Regions from separate parts of the Homo sapiens genome. Here region 2 is linked to region 1. The links are contacts of gene promoters, found by promoter capture Hi-C in blood cells and fetal thymus (Javierre and others, 2016). All regions are on one chromosome and are shown on one strand. Each heading gives the region's core, a stretch centred on a gene start or on the middle of the fragment in contact. The rest is flanking DNA. Distances are from core to core; before and after follow the strand shown.

The links. Contacts are between HindIII fragments. The CHiCAGO score rates a contact against its expected background, and 5 or more counts as called.
Region 2: the fragment with the promoter of UGT2A1 here is called in contact with the fragment with the promoter of STATH in region 1 in 6 of 17 cell types (neutrophils, M2 macrophages, endothelial precursors and 3 more); the score reaches 7.1 in neutrophils.

What each region holds. Positions count from the first base shown.
Region 1 is chr4:69,994,627-69,997,326 of GRCh38, forward strand. It overlaps STATH (statherin), which reads left to right and starts at 1,340. Exons shown (of 6, transcript NM_003154.3): 1 at 1,340-1,399. The HindIII fragment of the contact is 2,895 bases long and covers 1-1,351 here.
Region 2 is chr4:69,651,942-69,654,659 of GRCh38, forward strand. UGT2A1 (UDP glucuronosyltransferase family 2 member A1 complex locus) reads right to left here and starts at 1,306. Exons shown (of 7, transcript NM_001252275.3): 1 at 1,247-1,306. The HindIII fragment of the contact is 6,501 bases long and covers 1-2,541 here.

The DNA of each region.
Region 1 (2,700 bases), core at 90-2,589:
CCAGTAAGGCTGTTCCAATACAGCATAAAAATTTACCTAATAAATACTTCCTTAAAAAATCTGATACAAAATTAAACCACAAATTATCTTTACTGGTTAAAGCCTAAGGATAACTAATGCATTCAAGAGACAAATATGTGGTTGTTTTTTTTTTTATGTTTTTGTGGAGATACGGGTCTCACTATGTTGCCTAGGCTATTCTTGAACTTCTATGCTCAAGCAATCCTCCTGCCTCGGCCTCCCAAAGTGCTGGGATTACAGACATGAGCCACTGAGACCAGCCTTGTTTCAAACTTCACAGTACCCAAAGAATCACCTGGAGATAATGTTAAAATGCAAACGCCTTAGGACAACCCCAAGATTCTGACTCAGCAAGTTTGCGAAGGTGGACTAAGAATTTACATTTCCACAGGCTCCAGCTGATGCTGTCTGTGATGTTCCCATATGGCACACTCTGAGGAACAATGCACTAGGCTGTATAACTTACCTCAACTTTATATATAAGTTTTTGATATTCGTTTCTTAGTACATTGAGTTATCCAACCAGCAGTGAGTAGGGTAATTTTTACACAAATTTTCCTAGGAATGTAATGAAAACATTTTTTCCTTCACTCTAGTGTAATCATGTCAACACATGGCTGCTATGGAAAAATATGTAGCCTTAAAAACTCCAGGAAATTAAATTGAATTTCCAAATACATATATTCAGTCATATGTGAGATATGTATCAGTGAGCACTTAGAGTCATTTCACCATAAATATAATAATTTTTTATCATATAGTACCCAAAAGATTACTGAATTTGGCAAATGTTTACGTTCACTTTGTAACTTAAAATATTCTAAAGTCAATAGAAGATGGTAAAAGTATGAGATAAATAATGATTTGAAGAAAAACTCTTGAAGTATATGAAGACTGTAATTTTATTATGCCAGTTACCACGAGTTATCAGAGAACATGTAAAATCTTGATAACATGGTAAGTATTATTTGTGTCATAGAGTTGTTCCACCTTGGACACATACTTGTGGAAACATCTTTATCACTGCAATTATTTCTATGCCTGGTTTCCTCCAGCATGCTTTTCTGTCATCTGACTCACTCAGCGCTAGACTAACAGTGGGATTAACATGCAGTGGGTACAGTTGTTTCCTGGTTACTTTGTCTTCACAATCATCTATTGCAAAATCACTTTGTTACGGTTATTTTTATCATTTGTAGAGACAGATTTTGGGCATTACTTTTAGTTTCCATAATGTGATCTCATAATTGCCATTATTTAACAAAAACAAATGGGGGACTTCAGAGTGTTTAAATACATTGGCCCTCTAGGGTAGCACATCATCTCTTGAAGCTTCACTTCAACTTCACTACTTCTGTAGTCTCATCTTGAGTAAAAGGTAATATGTTCATGTATAATCGAATATGTTGTCTTAATCTAGAGTGTTGCTTCCTAAAATCTTTTGAAAACTAATTATAAAAATGTGTATTTATGTAATGATAATTTCTCATAAAGAAACAATTGAGAGAAATGATGACCTTCTTAGGATCTGAAGGTAAGTTGAGAATCTGAATAACTATACATTGAAATCAGCAATCATCATGCAAAGTAAATAATGTGGAATATGGAGACATATTCCAACTTCTCTCCTGATGGAACTTCTGAAAAGCTTTTTATTTCCTTGTCTACGTACTGGCATCTACTCTGCTACTTACTACTTTTACCTTTATTCGAAGTTCATATTTTAAGAAAATAGCATACGTTCTCTTTTTTGCAAATGTATATATTGTTTCACAAGTTTAACTTTTAAAAATTTACTTTTTTCCCATAAGTAAACATTTCTCACTACCTTTTCATTGACCTTTCCATCATTTTAAACAGTTATGTCATTCTGCATAATAAAAAATGTTGTATAACAGTCATGCTTTACTGCCTTACTGTTTTATATTACTTAAGTTGTTTTCATTCAGTTGTGATATGGCAGAAAACAAAGATTTTACTATTTCATATTTTTATTATTTTTCATTGGGGAAATATTTTTTTAAAACCATGACATATATATTTATATATCTATGTCTATATATCCATCTTTCAGTTTATCAAGGTTAGTAAAACAAAACTACTCTTCTATGAGCATTTTTTGATTCCATACTTTCAATAAAATTTACAGGTATAAAATACACTAAAGTTTTTATGCTTTTTGCATCATAAAATGACTGATGGGTAGGTTTATCTATCAGGTGATAGAAAAACCCCAAAGTACATATTATTTTTACACTTACTCTAATACCAGAAATTTCCTTTTTTTTTTTTTTTTTTTTTTAATTTGAGACAGAGTTTCGCTCTTGTTGCCCAGGCTGGAGTGCAATGGTGCAATCTCGGCTCACCGCAACCTCCACCTCCCGGGCTCAAGTGATTCTCCTGCCTCAGCTTCCTAAGTAGCTGGGATTATAGGCACTCACCACCATGCCCAGCTAAATTTTTATTATTATTATTTTTAGTAGAGACGGGGTTTCTCCATGTTGGTCAGGCTGGTCTTGAACTCCTGACCACAGGTGATCTGCCCACCTTGGCCTTCCAAAGTGCTGTGATTACAGGCATGAGCCACCACACCCGGCCAGAAATTTCAGTTTGAATAACTGAGGCAAATCAGTGAATAAGTAACAAAGCAAATGCCATAAATCATGAGTTCTGCTTTAT
Region 2 (2,718 bases), core at 56-2,555, 340 kb before region 1:
AAGTCCTAGGATCGAGGTTAAACGGGGCACTTCAGGTGCCCACTTGAGTCTCTTCCAAGTACGTTTTCCTTTCTTTCCTGTTCTAAAGCCTTTAAAATAAACTTCCGCTCCTGCTCTGAAACTCCCGTCAGTCTCATCTGCCTGATGCCCCCCAGTCAAATTCTTACTTCTGAGGAGGCAAGAATTGAAGTTGCTTCAGACCTGTAAGGATTCGCCACTGATAACTCAGATGCCTTCTACTGGTTAACAACTGCATACAAAAGGAGTTAGCATGGCATTCACATTAACACAATTGGTTATTGCTTTTACAACAGCATTTTCTTTAGAAAAACTTTATGTCCTTTTTTTTTTTTTTTTTTGAGACCAAGTTTTGCTCTTGTTGTCCAAGCTGGAGTGCAAGGGCATAATCTCGGGTCACTGCAACCTCCATTTCCCGGGTTCAAGCTATTCTCCTGCCTCAGCCTCCCGAGTAGCTGGGATTATAGGCGACCACCACCACACCTGTCTAATTTTTGTATATTTAGTAGAGACGGGGTTTCACCTGGTCTTGAACTTCTGACCAGAGGTGATCCACCCTCCTCGGCCTCCCAAAGTGCTGGGATTACAGGGGTGAGCCACCGCGCCTGGCCATTATTTTCTTTTTTTAATAAATAAAATTGATTTTGCATAAAACTTATTTGATTTATAGCATAAAACATTTGACTTATATTTAAAGTAAATAGATTTTAAAATAAATATTTAAAAATCCATTAAACAATATTAAGAAAATAAAATACCCACTAAAGATGACATCTCACATCCTCTCATTCATGTGTTGTCTTAAGGACCACAGTGGTCACTTGTGTACATTATTCTTGTCTTCACCATATATCAGTATAAAGTTTCTTATTTGTCACTTTATGTGTCATCTAATGAAGGAACAAACAACTCTCCACTGGTAGGAACAAAAGGCATGAGAAGAATCCCTAAAGAGGACTTTGAGTTCACACTTAGACAAAACTCTCAACTTACTGCTCTGTCCACACAGTTCCCTCGATATCTGTAAAATTATTTTGAAGTATAAAATCTGGGAGAAAAATCCATCAAATTATAAAGTAGAACTAATAATGCTTTCATGGGTAAGCAATGAAACAAACCAAAAGGTAAACCAGCGTTTTAAAGATTGATATTTCTTTAAGAAGAGAATGGAAAATAAATTAAAATATACATTTTATATTGATTATCATGAAGTTTTCTAGTTTCTTACCTGAAGTTTCCTGGAGGAACTTTAACAGCACTCATTTGACATTAGGAAGAAGCCGAATGTAAATAAATCCTAGGTGGATAAGCATAATATAATGAGTAATATGATCTTAAATGGAAAAAAGATTATGTAAAGTTGTTTATACTTAACATTTTCCACCCACTACACTGTGAAGCAGATTAACCTTTTGTCAAAGGTGTAACCTTCTGTTGGTTCCCTAGCAACTATTTGCCCTGAATTTTGCATTTACTATCATGGTCTCTGCCCCTACCCCAACTAACCAAGTATGCCAGGATATATCTAAAATAAGATTGACAATAATTAGTAATCTTGAGATTGTTATGAATAAGTATGAGCAATTAATATCCCTCAAACTTATGAAACAAACAATTATTATATTATTATGAAAAAAGTTTTAAAAATTAAAATGTCTTTATTTTTATTTATATATATATATTTTCCTGATTCATGATGATGAAAGTGGGTGGTTTGATTGATCTTTGCCATAAATAAAGAAGATAGTAATTTAGATAATGAAATAACTTTTTTAGAGTTGCACACCTTCATTATGCACCATCCTTGGGGAATAAAATTACTGCTGTTTCTTTGTGCAAATATTTTGAAGTAGCAAAAAATAACTTAGTATGTTTTTTGGCATAGCATCCCAAATATGTCATATTTAGTAATAACTAAGTACTGAGATAGAACATCACCACTTGTTGTTTTTGCTGATAAGCAAACTTATGGAAATGTGGAAATAAATTTCATACAGCTGATAAGTATGGCATAGTCCGGCAGAGACACACTTTGTATGATAACATTGAAGAGGAAATAAAGAAGAACAGTGGAGGCCCCAAGCAAGTCTTTAAGTTCAAGTCAGCTTGGATTGCATACATCTGACTACAAATATTCATCAATTCATGGAGTGCAAGTTCAATCTTGATAAAAGAGAAGTAATGTGTGTGTTTCATACAATGATTTCTCCATTTTGAATAGCTAATGTAATTAACTTCTCAGCTAAATAAAATGAGTCTTCATGCAAATATTTCAACATGAGCCCTCAAATAGAAACTTTTCTGAGTCTTTACACTTGCAGTAATATATCTTTTGCCTTCACACTTGGAACACAGCATGGGTGTTAATTAATATTTTTAATTCCTGTAGTTTTCACTCAAATCTATTTGATCATACTCTATTATCTTTTTATAATCCCAGTCACAAATACACACACACACACACACACACACACACACATTCCTTTTAAGCCAAATAATTGATAACTAATTTTTTTTTAAAAAAGCTTCTTTTCTGTTTGGTTCTCTGTACTGTAAAATTTATATCAAATATATTAACTGTAATATAAAAGTTTTTTTGCTTGTCCAAGATTTTTACTTGCTACAGGTGGTTAAATTTCTATCTAGGACAGAATGAGCAAAGCCAGTAACTGAAAATATTGAACAGCATGATTCCCAACT